Regions from separate parts of the Homo sapiens genome. Here all the other regions are linked to region 7. The links are contacts of gene promoters, found by promoter capture Hi-C in human tissues and cell types (Jung and others, 2019). All regions are on one chromosome and are shown on one strand. The core of a region is centred on a gene start or on the middle of the fragment in contact, and the rest is flanking DNA. Distances in the headings are between cores, read along the strand shown. Region 1 has its middle 6.8 kb from the start of MUSK. Region 2 overlaps SVEP1 (sushi, von Willebrand factor type A, EGF and pentraxin domain containing 1). Region 3 overlaps ECPAS (Ecm29 proteasome adaptor and scaffold). Region 4 overlaps MUSK (muscle associated receptor tyrosine kinase). Region 5 overlaps SVEP1 (sushi, von Willebrand factor type A, EGF and pentraxin domain containing 1). Region 6 overlaps MUSK (muscle associated receptor tyrosine kinase). Region 7 holds the start of LPAR1 (lysophosphatidic acid receptor 1).

Region 1 (2,809 bases), core at 174-2,673, 380 kb after region 7:
CAACAGAGTAAAGGCACTATCTACAGAATGGGAGAAAATATTTGCAAACCATACACCTGATGAGGTTAATATCCAAAATATATAAGGAATTCAGACAATTCAATAGCAAAAAAAAAAAAAAAGACAAATAACCCAATTTTAAAATGGGCAAAGAAGTCAAGCACAGTGGCACACCCCTTTAGTCCCAGCTACTCGGGATGCTGAGCCTAGGCGTTCAAGGCCAGCATGGGCAACATAGCAAGACCTCATTCACTTAAAGAAAAGTGGGAAAAGGATTTGAATAGACATTTCTTAAAAGACATACAAATGGCCAACAGGTATATGAAAACATGCTTAAAATCATTAATTATCAGGGAAATACAAATCAAAACCACAATGAAATATTATCTCACTCCAGTTAGAATGGCTATTTTCAAAAAGATGAAAGGTAACAGGTGTTGGTGAGGATGTGGACAGAAGGGAACCCTGTATACTGTTAGTGGGAATGTAAATTAGTACAGCCATTATGGAAAGCAGTGGGGAGGTTTACCAGAAATCTAAAAAGAAAACTACCATATAATAGAGCAATCCCACTACTGGATATATATTCAAAGGAAATGTAATCAGTATGAATCAGTATGTCAAAGAGATATCTGTATTCCCATGTTCACTACAGCATTATTCACAATAACCAAAGTATGGAATCAACCTACATATTCATGACTAGATAAATAAATAACAAAAATGTGGTACTATATATATATATATATATATATATATACACACATATATATGTGTGTGTGTATATATATACACAATGGGATACTATTCAGCCTTTAAAAAGAAGAAAATCCTGTGATTTGGGATAATATAAATGAACCTAGAGGACATTATGTTATGTGAAATAGCCAAACACAGAAAGACAAACACCACATGGTCTCACTTGTCTGTGGAATCTGAAAAAGTTGAAATCATAGAAGTAGAGAGAATGGTGATTACAAGGGACTGGGGGAGGGGAAATGGGTATTGGGGAGATGTTGGTGAAAGGATGCAAAATTGCAGTTAGGAGGAATAAAAAATAATGATTATGAATTTTTGGGCACCTAATTATCCTGGTGTTTCAGGGCCTAAGATATTGGGCAAGTAAGTTTGGGGTTTTGTTTCTTTCTTAACAAAAAGGAGACTACACTTCCCTCTCCACCGGAACCTCGATTTCACATCTACCCTATACACAGCCTTAGTTCATGCCATCTTTCTTAGAGCTGGAGATCTAGATAGTGAAGGGGAGCTACTGGTAGTGGGTTTTCATTTACAACTCAGTTTCTCCAACCTGCTCCTAGTGCAGTTTGCGAAGGAGAAAAATAGCAAACCATAGTTTTATCAGAACTGTTGTCTCCTGAGATAGTGTAGCCTATACACTTAAGGTAATCTTAATACAATTCCAATCGTATTTTGGAAACTAGGAAGCTGATTTTAGAACATATATACAGAAACAAAGTAAGCAAAAATAATCAGGGAAAATGTGGGAAAAAAAGCTTTTTCCATTTATATTCTAGTAGTTTCAGTTTCCATTCTTACGTTTAAGTCTCAAATCCATTTTGAGTTGATTTTTATATAAAATAAGGGCCTAATTTTATTCTCTGCATGTGGCTATCCAGTTGTCCCAACACAATTTTATTGAAGAGACTATTTTTGTGTATTCTTGGCATCGTTATAAAAATAAGGAATCACTTGCCTACCAAGTGTTAAAATGTATTGTAAAGGTTTAATAATAGCTTAATGTAATGACATTAAAATCCTGTGGTATGAGGCTATAAGTAGAAGGTCAGTGCACACTGAATGAATGATAAAGACGGCATTTTAAATTAGTGAGGAAAGATGACTTATTAGGTGAATTTGGTAGCCATTTTAAAAAATCAATTACATCTGTACCTCATATATTACGCCAAAATAAAATTTGGGATTTTAAAAGTACCAGAAAAAACATGTGTATGAGAGAGAAGGAATATATCTATTAGATCTATAGCTTTACATATATTTTCCCAAACATATGAAAATACTGGCCAATTATTTTCACTTAAAAGCCATTTTTCACTTGGCTTTTTAAATCGGGCTCTTTCCTGTTTTTCTTGTTATTTTTTGTTTTCTCTTTCATGAAATCCTTTTTCTTCCATGGAGAAAATAAATGTTAGTTTTCTCCAAGCTTAAGTCATTGGCATTTTTTTTTCAGTGTCCACACTTACAGCATTAGTTAACAGGTATATGCATGTGAATTCTACACCTGTATCTCTGAATTAAATCTCTGTCTTGGGAAACACTGGTATATCTGGTCACCTACATGCCCGTCTCACAAGAAACCAAAACTCAACTTTTGAGATATATTAAATTAATCTTTAAATGGTTTAATATTCAATTAGAACTAACAGTGAGATAAAAGAGGACCGCTCACTTTTAAACTTTGCTTTCTCTTCCCATCACTGTGAGAGACTTTAAAACAAAATGCCATTTTACAGGCCATATCTCCATAATGGGTGCTCACTGTCCTCATTGAGCTAAAATACTTTTGTAAACCAACACTCATCCAGATATTGGACTCTGTTCAAAATCCTTATACATGAAGGCACGGGGAAAAAGTTGGGGAATATGTGTTTCCTTCTATTGGTGAGTTTAATAGTCTCTTCAATAAATTGTGTTGGGATAACTGGATAGCCACGTGCAGAAGAATGTAATATGTTTGATAAACTATGGATTGTATATAAATTCAGAATTGTTTTTAAAAAATTAGCAGGTCTGTAAATTGACCTGAAAAAACATGAATTCTAAAAGTCAA
Region 2 (3,046 bases), core at 73-2,572, 500 kb after region 7:
TTTATTTTTAAATGTCCATAGTATGAAGAACACACAACACAGAAGTTTCAAGTTAGACAGACAGCTGAGATCTGAAGGATGACTAGACGATAGCTGTTTTATTACTTAAGGAGAGGATGTTAAATTTCATTCTGAATAGTTGGAATTCTGAGTATTTATCCTCACTGCAGAAACAATGCCTTTCAGAAGGAAATCATTCCCTTTTAGATCCAGAAGTAACCCTAGAGATTATCTGCTCTAAACCCCTCATTCTACAAGAGGAAATTGAGGCCTCAGGAAAGATGAGTATGTTGCTCAAGATAACATACCCAAACATCAGCAGAACCCCGGGAAGAACCCCAGACACTTTTCTCTAAGTCCTATATTATTTCCAAGATATCACACTGCTGTCTTCCCCCATGTTTGAAAATAACATCTTATATACATTGCTTCTCAGAGACAACAGACACTGAACTGTGTTCAAAATGTTTCGCAACACAGAAAGAGCTGGCTTAAATTCAGCCTCTGCCAATTACAAACTGCATGGCTATGAGCAACTTAATTTCTTCTGTTCTGAGTTTTTTCTGTAAAATGGGCTTAAATTATAGTATAATTTTATACATATCTACATGCATATATATGCATGTCTATGTACATAGATATGTATAAATGTAATATGTAGATATCTATGTATATAGATATATATAGATATCTATGTATATAGATATATATAGATATCTATGTATATAGATATATATAGATATCTATGTATATAGATATATATAGATATCTATGTATATAGATATATATAGATATCTATGTATATAGATATATATAGATATCTATGTATATAGATGTATGTAGATATGTATATAGATTGCATGTGTGTATGTGTATGCAAAACTAGTTGGGTTAATAGAGAATATACTTAGAATACATAAGATGGTATGTGGCACATCAATTCTCAACCAGGGGCGGATTTTATTATTAACGATTATTTTGAGATAATATAATTGTCATGAGAAAGCTAATGAATGAGCATTAAGATAATTACTTCAAGTATGAAGTGACAACCGTATATCTTATGAATTCTACTGTTCTAGGCTAGACTAGGGGTATTATCCTGTGCATTCACCAGTGCATGCTGGCGCACAGGCCTTGCACCTAGTAAAGAGCCCTTGCACCTACTAAAGGTGGAATACACTTTTAATCTGATGAGTATCCAGTGAAAAGCAAGACTATTAGATGGGAGAAAGCAGAGGAATAATGTGCCATTGAATGTTGAAGAAAGCAGATGTTATTAAGCTTCAGGTCAATGACAAGTTTAAAAACAATAATAATAAAACAGACAAAAAGTAGAGGTTGTTTACCTTGATTAGGATAAGGACAGATGCTGAGATGAGTTATATTTGTTAGTTTCATAGACAAGTAGAATATTAGAAATGCCCATAAGGGTTTTTCCTCATCATTCGTTCGGAAGATGAGGAAATCCCATCCCATCATCATGTAGTAAATTTGTGGCAGAGCTGAAGTAGAATTAAGGTATTCCAATTCCCAGGCCAAGGCTATCTCACAGGTACCCTTGAGACCAAAGATAGCTGACCATCATGATATTACTGTGGTCTTCTCTTTCTTCCTCGTTGTTGTGGGAGATTGGTGGTCTGGGTTAATTGAGTCTTCAAACAATGACCTCTCAAATCTGTAGCCAAGGCGGTGGCTTCCCTTGAAATGAACGCCACTGTCACAGTAAGCAGCTACTTCATGGACAAGATCCTGATGCACAAAAATATTGTAATAATTGTAGATCTGTTCCATGTCATGAAAATCCTAACTTGAATACCAGTCTTTGTTAGAGGTATTTGTTAGAAATCACTGACAAGTAATAGTCTGTCAAAGAGTTCAGTTTTATAGCATATGATATGTTTGAACTGGTTTATAATTTCCCTTGACTCAAAACTTCAATGAATTAGTTTCAAGTTAATCATGTGCTTTTAGCTAGTGGTCTTGTCGTTCTTGTTCTTTTCTCTTGATGTTACATTACTCCTTAAGAAACCAGAAATGGAGAAAAACAGGAATACCCAGATATCAATACTTTTCTTGTGGTAAATCAATCAATGTTTTACAAAAGCATTGGTATTTTGCTGTTGTTGTTGTTGTTTTTTTAAAAAACCCTACATAACTCTGTTTCATTTACTGCAAATATTTTGGATGACTCAGGAATGTAGGTCTGGTATTTTAACACCACATAATTAGATTTAGAGGATGGAGAAAATATTATTCTGGGTTTAGTTATTAAATTTCAGCTAAGGGAACAGTATTGCAAAACTGTGGATCTAATGAAAAGAAGGTGTTACTTACATTTCCACCTCTGTTACTAGTATGACTGTCTTCATCCTTTACCTTTCACCTAGGCATTTGGATAGTGAGAATGATGATGATGATAATGATAATGATGATGGTGATGAGAGCAATAACTGATAATAATAACAATAGTAGCTAATATTAAATAGTGCTTACTATGTACCAGACCATTTTCTAAGCATTGTTTATATTAACTCGTAATCTTTACAATAACTCTCTGGAGCATTTTCTCATTTTATAGATAAGGAAACTAAAAGTCTGAGAACTTAAGCAATTTGTCCAGGGTCACACAGCTAATAGAGCTGGGATATGAGCTCGAGTTTTCTGGCTGCACAGTCTATAGTCTAGCCACTTTGGTCACAGAACATTTAAAAATTAATTTCAATTTTTATTATTCTATGGGATAGAAATTTAACAAACAGACTCACAATTAAGAATATAATTTTTGTGCTTGCTTTGGCAGCATATATACTAAAATCGGAGTGTTACAGAGAAAATTAGCATGGCCCCTCTGTGCAAGGGTGACTAGCAAATTCATGAAGCATTTCTTATTTAAATATACATATATATATGTAATGTACATATATTATACATATATATGTAACACATACATATATGTGTATATATATACTTTAAAAATCTGTTAAGTATTAGTTTGTCCCTTATAATATTATCAATATTTATTATCAATATTTGATCATTTTAA
Region 3 (3,057 bases), core at 26-2,525, 330 kb before region 7:
TCCTCAGTTCTGGTTTATACTTTAAAAAGAAAAAGTTAAAAAATTGTTTTCCCCTATGTCCTGATTATTAGGATTAGTTTAGCTGCAAGTAGCAGAGAAATTCCAAAATACGGCCTTAAACAAGATAGTCAATGCTATGTTTCTCACAAAGCGTTGGGAGCATCACAAAGTGTTCAGGTATTCCGTCTCTTTACAGCTCTGAACTCTGCCATTTCTAGGGTGTGGTCATCATCCTCATGGTCCACAGTGTGTTTGTGTTCTAGGCAGGAATGCAGAGGAGATGAAGCAAGGATGAAGGATACAGTGGGCATGCCATGTCTCTCTTGAGGAGAGTTCCTGGGCACCGCTAGATGGCACTTTGACTTATAGCCATCCTGTTGGTCAGTACTTAGCCACACCTGGCAGCAGACTGAGTCTTCATTCTGGGTGTCCATTTGCCCTCCATGGGAGAAGGGGAGAGTGGATTTGGTAGTGAATGAACAGTTTATGTCATAATAAGCTTTGCCTTGGCTAATAAGCTAAGCCACCCCAGCCATCCTAGAGTAAAGGCAAGAAGCTCAGTGTGCCATGTGAATTGCCTCTGCCATATAGTGGAGGATTTGGGTCAAAAAAAGACTCAAGTTTCATGTGGAAAATGGAATACTCATTTTTAAAAGTTGGGCACTGGTCCCCCCCCCAAAAAAAAGGGTGTGGTTTCCCTGTTTATTTGTGAAACATGAAATATTTTAAGTAACATTCTTATTTCTTATTGCTCCTAAATTGCAGTTGTTTTCTTTCAGTAATAAGGCTATTTAAATAATTTCCATTACAAACATAGTGATAGCATATGGATTTGGGAGACTTGTGTTTTAAGTTGATTACATCACTAGCAAGCTGGACCAGTTGCTTCTCTTAGCCTCTGTTTCTCTATCAAGAAAGAGTTTGGATTTAGATCATTACTGAGTTTCTTCCATCTTTAAAATCTGATTCTAATGCAAGTCTTTTCATGTTATGCTCAAAAGACTACATATGCAGTATTTTTTAGCTTTTGTTTACAGATGCCTGTAAAGTATTGCCTAAATTTATTAGAGATACAGTATTCTGGTTATAAATTCTTGTTGTAAATAGGGAAACTTATGGTAGAGAATTTATCATTTAACTCTTGGTTAATATCTCCTGCCTTGGTTGGTACCCTGATAGCTTTAATAGTATACCTGTAACTTTGAAGAAGAAAATATTACATTTTCTTTTCTTTGATATATCCTAGAACTCACTTGAAAGCAGTGGGGTCCGGACAACCAAAAATGAAGAGGAGAATGAAAAGGAAAAGGAGCTCCAGCTGGAATATCTGCTGGGTGCCTTTGAAAGCCTGGGCAAAGCCTGGCCGCGAAACGCGGAGACCCAACGTAAGCACCAGAAACTGCATTTGAAGTGCTGTAACCAGAGGTTACTTAATGAGAGCGAAGAATTTTCTCTATGACAAATTATAGTTATTGTTTCTTATCGAGCCTGATTGATTAATAATGAGAATTATCCAGTGAAAGTTTTTTGTCTACATGAGTCTGTGATCTCACTGATCATTGTACCGCTGTAGCTAGGGCTGCTGTAAGAAAGTATCACAGACTGGGTGGCTTAGCAGAAATTTATTTTCTCACAATTCTGGAGGATAGAAGTCTGAGATTTCGAGATCAAGGCGTCAGCAGGGTTAGTTTCTCCTGAGACCTCTCTCCTTGGCTTGGGAATGGCTGTCTTCTCCCTGTGTCTTCACGTGGTCTTTGGTGTCTCTGTGCCCTAATCACCTCTTCCTATAAGGACACCAGGCACGCTGGATTAGGGCCCACTCATATGACCTCTTTAAAGGCTCTGTCTTCTATTTAATAATAATACAGTCAAATTCTGAGGTACTGGGGGATAGTATTTTAACATACGAATTTTGGGGGCACAGTTCCACCTATAATAACCATGATACATTTTATGCAGATAGTTTGATAGACGAGTTCTACTGATCTTCTTGATGATCATAGCTCTATTCAGAGGAATGCACAAAGTTTATTAGCAGGGTCTCTTTATCCTGAAATGAATGGTCTTGTTACCAAGTGTTCAGTAAGCAACTGAAATCCCTGTTTCAGTGAAAAACTCATTACTATTTGGACAATTTTCAGAACTGGACATGTATTTCCCAAAGATTAAATGAACAGTAAACCTCTATTATTGGATGAGGTTGCAGTTAGTTTGGAGTCCCCTGACAGGGCCTTAACCTTGGGATGATACTACCCTTTACACTTGATCTTAGCCAAAAGGCCAAGAAGTGATGATGCTACCCTTTAAGCTTGCCTTGTGTTGGGTCCTACAGTGCATCCTGCTGAAGATCTTAGTATTCGTTTTTTTTTTGTTTGTTTTTTTTTTGAGACAGGGTCTTGCTTTGTTGCCCAGGCTGGAGTGCAGTGGTGCAGTTCTTGCAGCCTTTACCTCCTGGGCTCAAGTGATCTTCCTGCCTCAGCCTCCCAAGTATTTGGGTCTACAAGTGCATGCCACGACACCCAGCAAATTTTTTTTGAAGAGGTGAGGTCTTGCTATGTTGCCCAGGTTGGTCTCAAACTCCTGGGCTCAAGTGATCCTCCCACTTTGGCCTCCCTCTCAAAGTGCTGGGATTATAGGTATGAGCCTCCATGCCCAGCGACAATATTATTGAATGTTATAAAAAGTACTGTTGATTATTTGTGATTGGATATGTCTAGAATCAGTTAAGGTTCTCTTTGAGCCCTGTCATCCTTTGTGTGAACTTATATATTTGCTATGTTTATAGGAAGGGTTTCCCAGAAGATACAAATTTGCAGGTGGTTTTATTTCTTAATATTATGTTATAGACTGCCATGGAAGTCCACTAATATGATGCCATAAAGAGTATTAACTTTTCCTTGATAGGTAGAGAAAGCTAAAGTAGGGAATTATATGAGAAAGATGATACAAACATAAAGCAGTTTATTTTAATATAAGACATAGAAGGTTGTTAATAGAAATGTGCATTTATTGAGAACCAAGGCCTTTTCTTTAGGAACTTAACTGTTACACATTGGC
Region 4 (2,919 bases), core at 70-2,569, 340 kb after region 7:
GGCCACTATACAGTTCATCCTTGCAACCAAAAACCACTAGTACCCCAAAAGCTATTGAAATATGAATAAATAAACACATTGCTTTTAACTATCAGGTTTACCTTGCACCCTAGATGGTATCTTTAGAAGAGTACATGTCCTTTGAAATACTAGAAAATTTCACACATAATATTAAAATTACTCTTTGGAGTTTAAATATTACATCTGTCTTTTCTGTTTTGAACCCTAAATTCAGTAACATAAGTACAACCACCCTTGTTTGTCATTGTAGGAAATGCACCAAGATTTATAACAAGAGGAAAGCCAGATAATTAATCATTAAAAATTAGCAATATTTATTTTATTTTAAATAAAGCAAAGCTGAGCAATTTTATACCTTAGTTCAGTTAATTGACATAAAGTGACACCTTTGTATTCCTCTTAAAATATACTATGCATTGTTAAATGAAAAACATAGTCTGTAATCTTTTAGGTGATATAAAGATGGAAAGACAATAATGATGCCTCATAATAATTTATCAATAAATGTGGGGATAAGATACAGAGGCAGTACAAAATAAGCATATGGATAATAACTTTTTTTTTTTTTGAGATGGAGTCTCATTCTGTTGCCCAGGCTGGAGTGCAGTGGTGAGATCTTGGCTCACTTGCAACCTCTGCCTCTCGGGTTCAAGTTATTCTCCTGCCTCAGCCTCCTGAGTAGCTGGGATTATAGGCACACACCACCACACCCAGCTAATTTTTGTATTTTTAGTAGAGACAGGATTTCGCCATGTTGGCCAGGCTGGTCTTGAACTTCTGACCTCAGGCCTTGGCATCCTGAAGTGCTGGAATTACAGGCGTGACTACTCTTCATGACTCAGGAGGGATTTGCCAAGGTATTTGTGTATGAGTCTTGAGTCTTTTCGCCTAACTTCTCTCCAGAGATCTCATTTCTTTTCTTCCGAACCTTGTCTCCCTCCCTCCTTCCAGAAACTGTCAGTTCTAAAGCCTGGGTTTTAGTTTTTCTTTTTCATCCCCTAAGTCTCAGATTCAACATTAAAAAAAAATAAATGATTTAGCCAGCCAACAAATACAAAGGATTCCAGGTTTGCTTTTTCATTGCCTCCTTTTCTATCTTTAACATTATTGGTTCCCATCTCTTTTTTCCCTAGCCAGACCCAAATGAAATGCCATGCAGTTTGCATATATGCAAACAGAAATATTTACATTTGGTTAAAATGTACATGGAAACTACTTTATACTAGAAGTTTGTAAGTGTGTAACTGAGTGTGTAAAGAAATGTTATATTTTAAAATACATTTTATATATGTGTTTTAACATCATAACCACTTACCCTGAGAGGGCTGTCTCCCTTTATCCAAGACACTGATGGTTTGGGATTACCCATTGTAGTACATGGTAGGACTGCTTTTAATCCCTCTATTATTTTCACATTTATGGGAGGACGAGTTATTTTAGGTTCTAAAAAGAAATGAAAATTCAAAATAAATAAGGCAATATGGCTTTATTAAACCTAGAGTTTCTAACTTTCAATTTAATTCTAAACATCTGTTTTGAGAATCATTTGAGGCATGTTACATTACAAAATTCACCAAATGCAAAGACAGTTTTCCTCAGTAGATCTCAAACAGAAATCAGTTTAGAAACACTTGGTTGTCTCTGCTTTATTAGAATCTTACTAGCAAAACACAAATTTATGAAAAATATTAACAGTGTGAAGTTACCATAGCATTCTTCATTTTAAAAGATAGTTAATAAAAGCTGATTAACATAGACTGTCACCATAGCAATTCAACATTATTTAATTCATACTGATAGACATAAAACATTTGAAAAGAAAATTTTGATATAACTATATTCTTACCTAGTTAGAAATTATGACCTATTTTCCCTTTAGCTTCCATCTTAATTTGACTATTAAATTTTATGATTATTAATTAAATACATTCATTCTCTAGAAAGTAAACCAGATATTATTATATTAACAATCAGAAGAAATTCTGTCATACAATTTGGGGGGACTCAAACATGTAATTTACTGTTCAAACACTTTTAATCTTTCAGAAGAAATAGTTTATGCCAGTTAATTTTTATTCTCAAATATGAAACTTTCAAAGAAAGTTATTAAATCTAATATACAAAAGAATTGATAAGTTCAGGATGCCAGTTATTTTAGTACTATTCGTAAAATAGTTAAAACTACATTTATGTCCTTAGGAATTTTACGTTACAGATACAGAGGGGGACTTCGCAAGAGAGACTACTGAGCAATGGACACATTTTATTTCTTGCAGGACATGTGCCGTAACCAATTTGTTATTTTGACAAAGGAACGCATGAAATATGGACTTTGTTTTCTTCTACTTCAATGTGAGGGAGAGGAATGGGGGCTTTGGTGTTGTTGGTGGTAAGAGATACTTGCAAAGCCTTCATGACCTGTTGGGTTTTGTTTTTTTGTTTTTTTTTTTTTTTTTTTTTGAGACGGAGTCTCGCTCTGTCGCCCAGGCTGGAGTGCAGTGGCGCGATCTCGGCCCACTGCAAGTTCCGCCTCCCGGGTTCATGCCATTGTCCTGCCTCAGCTTCCCGAGTAGCTGGGACTACAGGCGCCCACCACCACACCCGGCTAATTTTTTTTTTTTTTTTTTTTTGTATTTTTAGTGGAGACGGGGTTTCACCCTGTTGTCAGGATGATCTTGATCTCCTGACCTCGTGTTCTGCCCGCCTCGGCCTCCCAAAGTGCCGGGATTACAGGCGTGAGACCTGTTGGTTTTTAATCTAAGCATTCACTGTCATTTAGAGTTCCTGCGGCCCTGTGTTATAGCAAAAATACAAGAAAGGCTTTAAAATATAGGAAAATAACAACTTTATTACTTTGCCTGCTATCTATAGCATACAACTCTCCTTCTAATAAACTGT
Region 5 (2,840 bases), core at 283-2,782, 480 kb after region 7:
GAGTTTGAGGAGCCTCATGGTGCATTCAGACAGAGGTGTATACTGGGCCACTGGAACTTCACGTTGGAAGTTGAAGAGTTTGACATTGATTTAGGAGCCATTAGACTGTAAGTGAGACTCAAAGTTCTGAGTTCACATGATACTGCCCAAAGGAAGCATGAAAGAGAAAATTTGGAAATGGCAAACAACAACAAACTATAACATAGAAGTAAATGAAAAACCCTAAAGACACTACTAGGAGACAGTCAACATTTTGATGTACAGTCATGCATTGCTTAACAATGGGGATACCTTCTGAGAAAAGCATCATTAGGCAATTTTGTTATTGTGTGAATATCACAGACTGTATTTACAAAAACCTGGGTGGTATAGCCTACTAATCACCTAGGCTATATGGAATAGCCTATTGCTTTTAGGCTATAAGCCCTTACAGTATGTTACAGTACTGAATACTGTGGACAATTGTAACAGTATGTTAAATATTTGTGTATTTCAACATAGCTATAGAAAAGGCAGAGCAAAAATATGGCATTATAATCTTATGAGATCACGGTTGTATATGTGGTCTGTCATTGACCAAAACATCATTATGTGGTACATGAGTGTATACATGACTATATACTGTATGAGTCAGTCACACTCATACATACACAAACAGACATACAGTACATTTCCACATACATGCACACTAATGTCATGTACATATAGGTAATGAAATCATTGTGTTTGGTTGCCTACTTCTTAAATTTAATAGTGTTCAATAATATCATTGTAATAATATTATGTGATTACCCTATAATTTATTTAACTAGTGTGCTTGTCCTGTTGTTGGAACTTTATATTGTTTCTAATTTTTTATTATTGCAAATTATTCTGGGATACACATACATCCTTTTGATCATTTTGTGTGTGTATCCATTGTTATTTCCTTAACATATTCTTAGCTGTAGAATTTCAGTTCAAATCATGTGAAAATTTTAAGGCTTTGATCACTTTGTCAAACCGTCCTCCAAATATTACCAGGACAGGTGGTATTCCCAACAAAAATATCTGTTTTCCTATGTATTTTGCAATTTTGAAATTTAAAGAAAACCTTGGCCATTTGAGAAGTTAAAAAAAAACAGTGTTACTATTTTTAAACTTATGCTATTTTGGTATTAATGAAGTTAAACATTTTTCATATTTTCTGGCAAATACAATTTCTTTTTTTGGTCTTTGTTTTGTTTGGTCAAAAATGCTCAACTGTATTTCTGTTATTTTTTCTCTTTTCTCCTCCTTAGACAGCTATAAAAATTATTTATATTTTAAAGACATTAATACTATATTTGATAAGCATAATACATATATTTTCCAGTTTGTTGTTTTCTTTCTAATTCTGATTTTTTTAGAGGGAGCAGAAGCTTTAAGAAGTATAACACTTTCTATGGTTCTGTGTCTTATTATGTTAGCTAGGAAGTTCAAAAGGATTTTAAATAATAATGAAAATACTTAATACTACTGATTTATTTCTTACCTACTTGGGAAATCTGCTGTTTTTCTAATAGTTGAACATGGTTTCCATTATTGTTTTGAGATAGATAATCTATCATACTAATGAGGTATATTTTTATTCCTAATTTTTATTGATAAGCAAAGCAAAAATTAATTTTATTGAATGTCTTTTCAGCATATTGGATTATTACTTCCTTTTAATTGGGGTAATAATTGTGTTGCATTGGAGCCAAAGACTTTCCAATTTTAATATATATTTATATTTGAGGAATAAGCCTTATCACATAAACGAGAAAGTTTCTTTTAATATTTGAATTCAGTTTGGTAGTATTTATATAAAATTTTGTGGCTATGTGAGATTAGTCAGCAGCTTTCTACACTAAAATTTGTACTAAACTTTATCAATTTGAATTTCTGGCATTTTTATCTCACTATGAGCAATGTGGATCTCTGTCTTTCATTATTTTGAGTTTTCATGCATTAGTTTCTTATCAAATTCCTCTCTTACACATCTCTCTTTTCATTTTAGCCTATTCTCTTTCTATGGCTTTCAGTTCTTGTTTTTTATGGAGGTTTTGACTTTCTAAATCCTAGTAATACAAGCACCATTTTATTATGCTTTTTTTTTTTTTTTTTTTGAGACAGGGTCTCATTCTGTCACCCAGGCTGGAGTGCAGTGGCACCATCATGACTTACTGCAACATTCACCTCCTGGGCCCAAGTAGTTCTCCCACCTCAGCCACCCAAGTAGCTGGGACTACAGGTGTGCACCACCATAACCAGCCTATTTTTTGCAATTTTTTTTTTTTTTTTTTTTTGTAGAGACAGGGTTTCTCCATGTTGCCCAGCCTGGTCTTGAACTCCTGGGCTCAATCAATCTGCCTGCCTCAGTGCTGGGATTACAGGTGTGAGCCACAGCACCGGGCCAATTATTCTTATTTTCTTATTTTAGTATTAAATTACATACTCTTCCAAATGCTTCAGTTGATTTTGTATATCTTGGATTTACAGAATATTTTCATAGGCCTTCTCTAGATGTTTTGTGTTTTTTCATCCTGGGATGAGGATATATCTATCTTGGTTTACACTGTCCCATATTATAGCCACTAGCCACATGTGTCTACTTAAATTTAAGTTAATTAAAATTAAACAAAGTTACTAATTCAATTTCTCAGTTGCAATAGTCTCATTTCAAGTGCTCAATAGCCATATGTGGCTACTGTATGTAACAGAACAAATGATAATGTCAAGCATTATAGAAAGTTCTATTGGGGATTGGTGATCTAGGCCATCCATTTTCAGACACAGGCTGTGGCTTATTTGTTACAAATAAGAGGGTTAACCTCTTC
Region 6 (3,072 bases), core at 372-2,871, 330 kb after region 7:
CTAAAGCAAAGAAACCCGATCCTGGTGTACTGCCACTGTTTACGTTTCTGTCTGCTTTGAAGCAGGGCAATGCCTGAAGAGGTTTACCCACTGTGGCTCCAACTCTGAAGGAGTCAGAAGGCAAGCTCCTTTAGAAAACATACACATCATCCTCAAATACAGTGACTCTCTTCTCCAGGACAAAATAAGGGCTGCCTGCCTCAATGATGTGGGATTCCCTCCCATGGCTTGGGTTGGGAACATTTCTGTGGCCTTTGAGATGGTAACGTTTTTCTCACTTGTAAATATGGATGGTGAATAGTGGGTACGAGCAAGAAATGTTTACCATGTAAATCAGACAAGAGCTACACAAAGTTTACTTGTTTTTGTTTCAGTCTTAGGTGTATATAAAGCAACCGCACTTTTGTTAAACTGGTTCTGAAAATATATTAGAAGTTTAATCATCAGCCAATAAAATATGTGACTTCATTCCTGATTCACTTTTTTCTTCTTAAAGAAAGTTCATTTTCTGTTTTTGATGGGAGGAGATGCTAAACTGCTTAATTACCAGGACAAAGAAGTATTTCTTAGTTTACCTTTTTAAAACATTTTTATTTTGAAATAATTTTAGATTTACATAAGAGTTGCAAAGATAGTATAGAAGGTTTCCATGTACTGTTCACCCAACTTCCCCTAATGTTAGCATCCTGTATAACCATGGTACGTTTATCAAAATCTTAGTTTACTTTTAAATAACTTTTTTGATCTAAGCTCTGGAAGATGCCTGCACTCTGACATGCGTTAAACGAGCTGAGGTCTATTAAGAATAAGATTTTTGTTTTAGCCAACCGGAAATTTTAGTTGGAAAAATAAATAGAAGCCATAAACTTAATCTTAAATCATACCACAGTATCCCAGTTGCCTAAAGTGGCTTGGGTTGGGAACATTTCTGTAACCTTTTAGATGGAATTCTGGATGCCAGATAAGGCCATATGCCTCCAAACCATAGGTTCCCACATTGTCAGGATGTTAGGTATCTACCCGTTTAAAATTATGTCTAAGAGAGGGCTAGGCATGGTGGCTCACACCTGTAATCCTAGCACTTTGGAAGACTGAGGCAGGTGGATCACTTGAGGCCAGGAGCTTGAGAGCAGACTGGCCAACATGGTGAAGCCCCATCTCCACTAAAAATACAAGAATTAGCTGGGCATGGTGGCACATGCCTGTAATCCTAGCTACTCAGGAGGCTGAAGCATAAGAATCGCTTGAACCTGGGAGGCGGAGGTTGCAGTGAGCAGAGATTGCACCACTGCACTTCAGCCTGAATGACAGAGAGAGACTCTGTCTCAAAAAAAAAAAAAAAGAAAAAAAGGTCCAAGAGAAGATACCAAGAAGATGATCTCCATGTTAGCCTGTGAGTCAAATCATGGTTTATTCTGTTTTTATAGCACCACTAATAGATACTGTCCCAAACTCTCTAATCCTTCTTTTACTCCCTGGTTATGAGTCAGTGTCAGGCTGTGCTTGCATGGTAAATCTGAATTTTTTCCTCTATTTTCTTTTTCCTCCCTCAATGTGATATGATCCTCACCAAGAGCTCCTCACTCTTCATCAATCAAAGCCCTGTTGGCCTTCACCTCTCTGAAGATTTCCCTGACCTTTCCCTATCTCCTCTGTCCTGTGTATATAACCCTACACAAACTTCTATCATTGTAAATATATTGCATTTTACTTGTTTGCATATCCATCTTCCTCACTGAATTTGAACACTTTTCAAGAAATGAACCACATCTCTCTTTCGTCTGTATCCTTAAGAATTACCTCATTGCATAGAACATAGTAGGCATTCCACAAATGGATGAATTTGAAGCTATCCTAACATTGATATCTTACTATTTGCAGATAAGCTTTCTCCTTGAATTGTTTAGATTCATCTGGAATAAAGTCCCTCTAAGTAGAAAACCTGAAGTCAGTGTTTTTCAAAGTGTGGTTCATGGGTCACTGCATTAAGGATCCTTTGGGGTGTTGTTAAAAAGCACTAACATAAACCTATCAAATATGAATAACTGGGGAATGCATCCTGAAGCTGTGTCATTTAGTAAGATCTCCAGATGCTTCTGATGTGCACTGGCATTTGAGAACCACTTGGAGGAGAAGTTCCATGAATCCGTCAACTTAGTTATTTCTTTCTCTTTCCATAGAGATCTTAAGGAAGGTATATTGATATGGCCATAAATTAAATGAATAACAATATATTAGGATCAGGGAGAAAACCTCTGGATGGTTTGGTGTAACAGATACTATGACTAAGCTTCAAATTGGATTCTAAGATACATGCCAGGCCGAGCAAAAAATAAAGTAAAAGAAAATAAAGTACACAGTACTTACTATAGGAATGGATAAAATGTCAGTTTCTCAGCAGAGACCCTTCTCCCCAACCCAGGCACTGATTTTTTTTTTTTTTTTCAGAATAAACATGAGTTAAAGGTTTTATTTAACTCATTCACAAGGAAACCAGTGAAGTGTTGCAACCAGGTGAAAAGAGAATCCCAAGGACAGACCCATTTATAGATCAGGAATATTAAAATGACTGTGCAAACAGAGCCAGATTGGGTTTTTTGGTTGCTTTTCCACTGGACAGAATTCATTTGCAAGTCTATGGAGGAGAACGATTTAGCATTGCTGCCAGTTATCTACAATTTATAAAGCTTTAAAACAGCTCCCACAGAATTGGAATCACACAACACAGGTGTGCTCTAGAATGACAACACACAATTTTCCATTTAAGCACAAATTGTTCCTTATAGTCTCCCCACTTTTGATTAAAAAGAATCTCAAAGATTCTTGACGACAAAGTGAGTATGGCCTTATTAGATTTAGCCTGGTTCTTTACACAGGTGCATCAACAATGTTAACCATATGGGCATCAAGAACGTTAACCATATGGGCCTTCTTTAAGTTTGTTCCACTGGAGGTCTCTATAAGAAATCTCAGCTTGGTCTTCTGCAAGCTTCTATTAATTTGCTGTGCTGAGGCTAAGGATGTAAGTCCAAGGAAATTTCTCCATAAGATTTCGTCTGCAGTATCTATTCA
Region 7 (2,753 bases), core at 207-2,706:
ATGATTTTTTTTAAAAAAAAGATTAGAACCATTGTTTTTAAAAGGAAACAGCTTTAGATAGTAAATTATTTACAGCCAGGACTCAGCCCTGAGCATCCTGTGAAAACCACACGAGCTTGGTCAAGGTTCTAAGCAGTCACCGGTGGGAGATGGTCATGGTCCCGTCACAGCATAACTCACTTGAGGCTTGAAAAGTTTCCGTCCAGCTACGGTTTGCAGTGACCTTTCTCTTCTGCAAAGCCCACGGTTACCTGGTGGCCACCACCAACATAGCCCCGCCTCGCTGTCCTGCGTTTCTCTCAATCAGATCAGTCCTGCCGAGTCCCCATGCCTTACTGCTGGTGTGCTGTGTCCTCTGTGCCATTTCAAGGCGAGGGCTCATGAAACTTTTACTCACACGCTGCTATTTTTGATATGCGGTGGCCTTAGCTGTGGAGCGAGAGGCCGATAATTGTGATCACTCCGGAAATCCTGGGAAGCCAGAAGTGGGAGATGGGTGTTGTGAGGTGGCGTGGCTAGGGAGACCCCATCGAGTGGGTGTGTTATAAGACCTGGGCGAATCCCTGTGGCTGCCACTCTCCTGAGAATGTTCCCTAGGCCTTAGTCCCGCGCCGCTCCCACCCACACCTCCAGGTGTGCAGTCCCCGCCCTTAATTACTCTCACTAAAATTGATAGTTTACACTTGCAAAGCTACACTGGGAAAGCGGAAGAGAAATTTATAATCGTGGATATGGAGAACTAGGGGAGCAGACACACTTGCTTTCGTTTACAGATCCAGTGAAGTGAAAAATCAGAACTAGAAACGTATGCACCTTCCTAGCAGCAAAGCCGCTTCTGCGTTCTTCGCAGCCTCCAGTGCAGGGCGGCGCTGGGAGAAACTTTGCGCCTTCTGGAAAGTTTAGAAAGTGAGCCACGAAAGAGAGGCCACATTTCCGGGGTTTTGCGGGCCCCGCGATGTTTTCCAGAGCTTTTCGAGTGGGAAGAGGAGAGCGACAACGTGAAAATGCCCCGTGCCGGGGCGTCCACCGGAGTCCTGCCAGCTGTCCGGCGCTGGGGTAAGCGCAGGAGGGGCGGGGGTGGGACCCGAGCTGGCGGCCACGGGTCTCCCGCTGCGGGTGTGTCGACTCGGGGGCGGGGCGGGGGAGGCTGCTGAGATAATGAATGGGAGGCTAAGGCCACCCCCCAGCCCCGGCCCTGCCACCACCGTGGGCTGTCGAGCCAATGAATGGAGGAGGGGGCGCAGAGGTCAGGGGCGCTGGGGGCGCCACACCAGGTAAGGGGTCCAGCTTGGGAGCGGGGAGGGCGGACTCTGGGGGTTCGGGTGTTGCTGACTTGTGCTACGTGGAACAAGCAGAAAAGAAGGAAGGCGGAGGAAGAGAGGAGGCTGGCGTCGGCGCTGCTCCTCTGGCCCTCCCTCTGCGCCCCCTCCTCCTGCCAGCGCGCCAAAGCCGGGCAGTAGGGGCCGACTGGCGGCTGACGCTCCCTGAGTGGCGACTCCGTCTCCAGCCCCGCTGCGGAGCGCGGGCCGGATCTGGGGCGGCCAGGGCCCGGAGCCGCGGAGCCCTCCCCGCCGCCCGGCCGAGCACGGGACCCCGGCGGGGTGGGCGCAGGGGGCGGCCCCGCTCTGGGCGACTGCCGAGGGGCGGGCGGAGGGCCGGGCTCGGCTGGCGGTGGGGCGGGGGCCGCCGGGACTGGGCGCGCGGCCTGAAGCCAGCCCGGGGGCGGCAGGAGAGGGACGCGCGGCGGCAGCGAGCGCAGGTAAGGGGGCCGGCGCGGCGTGTGGGGACGGCGCCCCCTGGGCGCGAAGCCAGAGGCCGCGGCGACTGCTCGGCCCGCCACACGGCGCGCTGGGCTCACACTGTCCCGCCGCGGACGGGCTTTGTGGTTGGGGGCGCGCGTGCGAGTGCCAGTGAGAGTGTGGGTGCGCGCTGTGGGCCGCGGCGCGGGTGGGTGGCCGTGCGTTCTTGCGAGCCGGCCTGCAGGAGGCGAGGCTCCCCTGGCCTCCCGCACCCAGCGGCGGACCGAGCCCCTGGAGGGAAGTTGCCGCAGCCGCCCGGGCCGCCGGCCCTCCTGTCCCGCGCCAGGTCAGTGCGCCCCGGGGCCCGCCCAGTGACACGTAGGTGGCCTCCGGTTACCTGGGTCGGGGTGGGTGCGCGGGAGGGCTTGCGAGGGGCCCTCGAAATTCTCCCAAAACCTCGTCCCGCTGGACTTGCACCTCCGAGGGGTCCCTGCGCCCCTGGGGCTCCGCACCTCTCGCTTCCCACTGACGACTCGGTTGTCCCCCACCACCGGGCTGAGGACTTTTAACTAAGTTTCTGTCCAGCCGCCTAACAAACGTGCTTAACAAGTAACAGGAGGTTGTAAGGCAAGGGAGGGACCTGGCTTTGAAAGTTGATGGTTTTGAAATCGACGGCTCCTTTGACTTGCGTAGGACTCCTTTGTGGTGAATGGATTTAAAGTTTATTCTTGTTTTTCTTTGCTGCCATTTGGTCTTTGCAATGTTAAGAGTGAAGGCATTCAGGACTTGCTGCTGCCTGCTGTCTGGGGCCTGAGGTTGTGGCTCTCCGCTTCTGCTCTCCTCTCTTCATTTTTGTTGAAATCCGTGGATTTTTTCATAAATGTGGGTGCTGGCTTGTTTCACTATGGACGCGTCGTTTCCTATGGGGTTAGATAGATATTGGTAAACATAAATATTGAAAATGTGATGATCACATATTGATGATCACAGCGAAATCCTCTATTCCTTCAGGCT

What was found. The method cuts DNA at HindIII sites, captures the fragments that hold promoters and counts their contacts. A contact is called where the count stands out against the background at its distance.
Region 1: a contact is called between a fragment that was not itself captured here and the fragment with the promoter of LPAR1 in region 7, in 9 of the 25 tissues and cell types used here (IMR-90 fibroblasts, adrenal gland, aorta and 6 more).
Region 2: a contact is called between a fragment that was not itself captured here and the fragment with the promoter of LPAR1 in region 7, in 1 of the 25 tissues and cell types used here (mesenchymal stem cells).
Region 3: a contact is called between a fragment that was not itself captured here and the fragment with the promoter of LPAR1 in region 7, in 4 of the 25 tissues and cell types used here (IMR-90 fibroblasts, adrenal gland, lymphoblastoid cells and 1 more).
Region 4: a contact is called between a fragment that was not itself captured here and the fragment with the promoter of LPAR1 in region 7, in 3 of the 25 tissues and cell types used here (adrenal gland, dorsolateral prefrontal cortex and mesenchymal stem cells).
Region 5: a contact is called between a fragment that was not itself captured here and the fragment with the promoter of LPAR1 in region 7, in 1 of the 25 tissues and cell types used here (mesenchymal stem cells).
Region 6: a contact is called between a fragment that was not itself captured here and the fragment with the promoter of LPAR1 in region 7, in 3 of the 25 tissues and cell types used here (dorsolateral prefrontal cortex, mesenchymal stem cells and neural progenitor cells).

The regions. Positions count from the first base shown.
Region 1 is chr9:110,660,574-110,663,382 of GRCh38, reverse strand. No RefSeq gene overlaps it. Among named protein-coding and RNA genes, the nearest start is that of MUSK, 6.8 kb to the left of the region's middle. The HindIII fragment of the contact is 6,229 bases long and covers 1-2,809 here.
Region 2 is chr9:110,539,540-110,542,585 of GRCh38, reverse strand. All of the region lies in intron 3 of SVEP1 (sushi, von Willebrand factor type A, EGF and pentraxin domain containing 1), which reads left to right. It overlaps LOC124902331 (U6 spliceosomal RNA), which reads left to right and starts at 2,788; the gene lies at 2,788-2,896. The HindIII fragment of the contact is 4,530 bases long and covers 1-3,046 here.
Region 3 is chr9:111,367,363-111,370,419 of GRCh38, reverse strand. It overlaps ECPAS (Ecm29 proteasome adaptor and scaffold), which reads left to right. Exons shown (of 50, transcript NM_001364929.1): 46 at 1,247-1,385. Among named protein-coding and RNA genes, the nearest start is that of OR2K2, 39 kb to the right of the region's middle. The HindIII fragment of the contact is 3,117 bases long and covers 1-2,833 here.
Region 4 is chr9:110,693,948-110,696,866 of GRCh38, reverse strand. It overlaps MUSK (muscle associated receptor tyrosine kinase), which reads right to left. Exons shown (of 15, transcript NM_005592.4): 4 at 1,337-1,464. Among named protein-coding and RNA genes, the nearest start is that of MUSK, 27 kb to the right of the region's middle. The HindIII fragment of the contact is 5,815 bases long and covers 1-2,919 here.
Region 5 is chr9:110,557,803-110,560,642 of GRCh38, reverse strand. All of the region lies in intron 1 of SVEP1 (sushi, von Willebrand factor type A, EGF and pentraxin domain containing 1), which reads left to right. Among named protein-coding and RNA genes, the nearest start is that of SVEP1, 21 kb to the left of the region's middle. The HindIII fragment of the contact is 7,411 bases long and covers 1-2,840 here.
Region 6 is chr9:110,711,533-110,714,604 of GRCh38, reverse strand. The region is part of intron 5 of MUSK (muscle associated receptor tyrosine kinase); the gene reads right to left. Among named protein-coding and RNA genes, the nearest start is that of MUSK, 44 kb to the right of the region's middle. The HindIII fragment of the contact is 4,819 bases long and covers 1-3,072 here.
Region 7 is chr9:111,037,173-111,039,925 of GRCh38, reverse strand. LPAR1 (lysophosphatidic acid receptor 1) reads left to right here and starts at 1,456. Exons shown (of 6, transcript NM_001351411.2): 1 at 1,456-1,759. LOC124902248 (a long non-coding RNA gene) reads right to left here. Exons shown (of 2, transcript XR_007061732.1): 1 at 2,137-2,753; 2 at 1-471. RefSeq lists a silencer at 1,687-2,026. The HindIII fragment of the contact is 11,259 bases long and covers 1-2,753 here.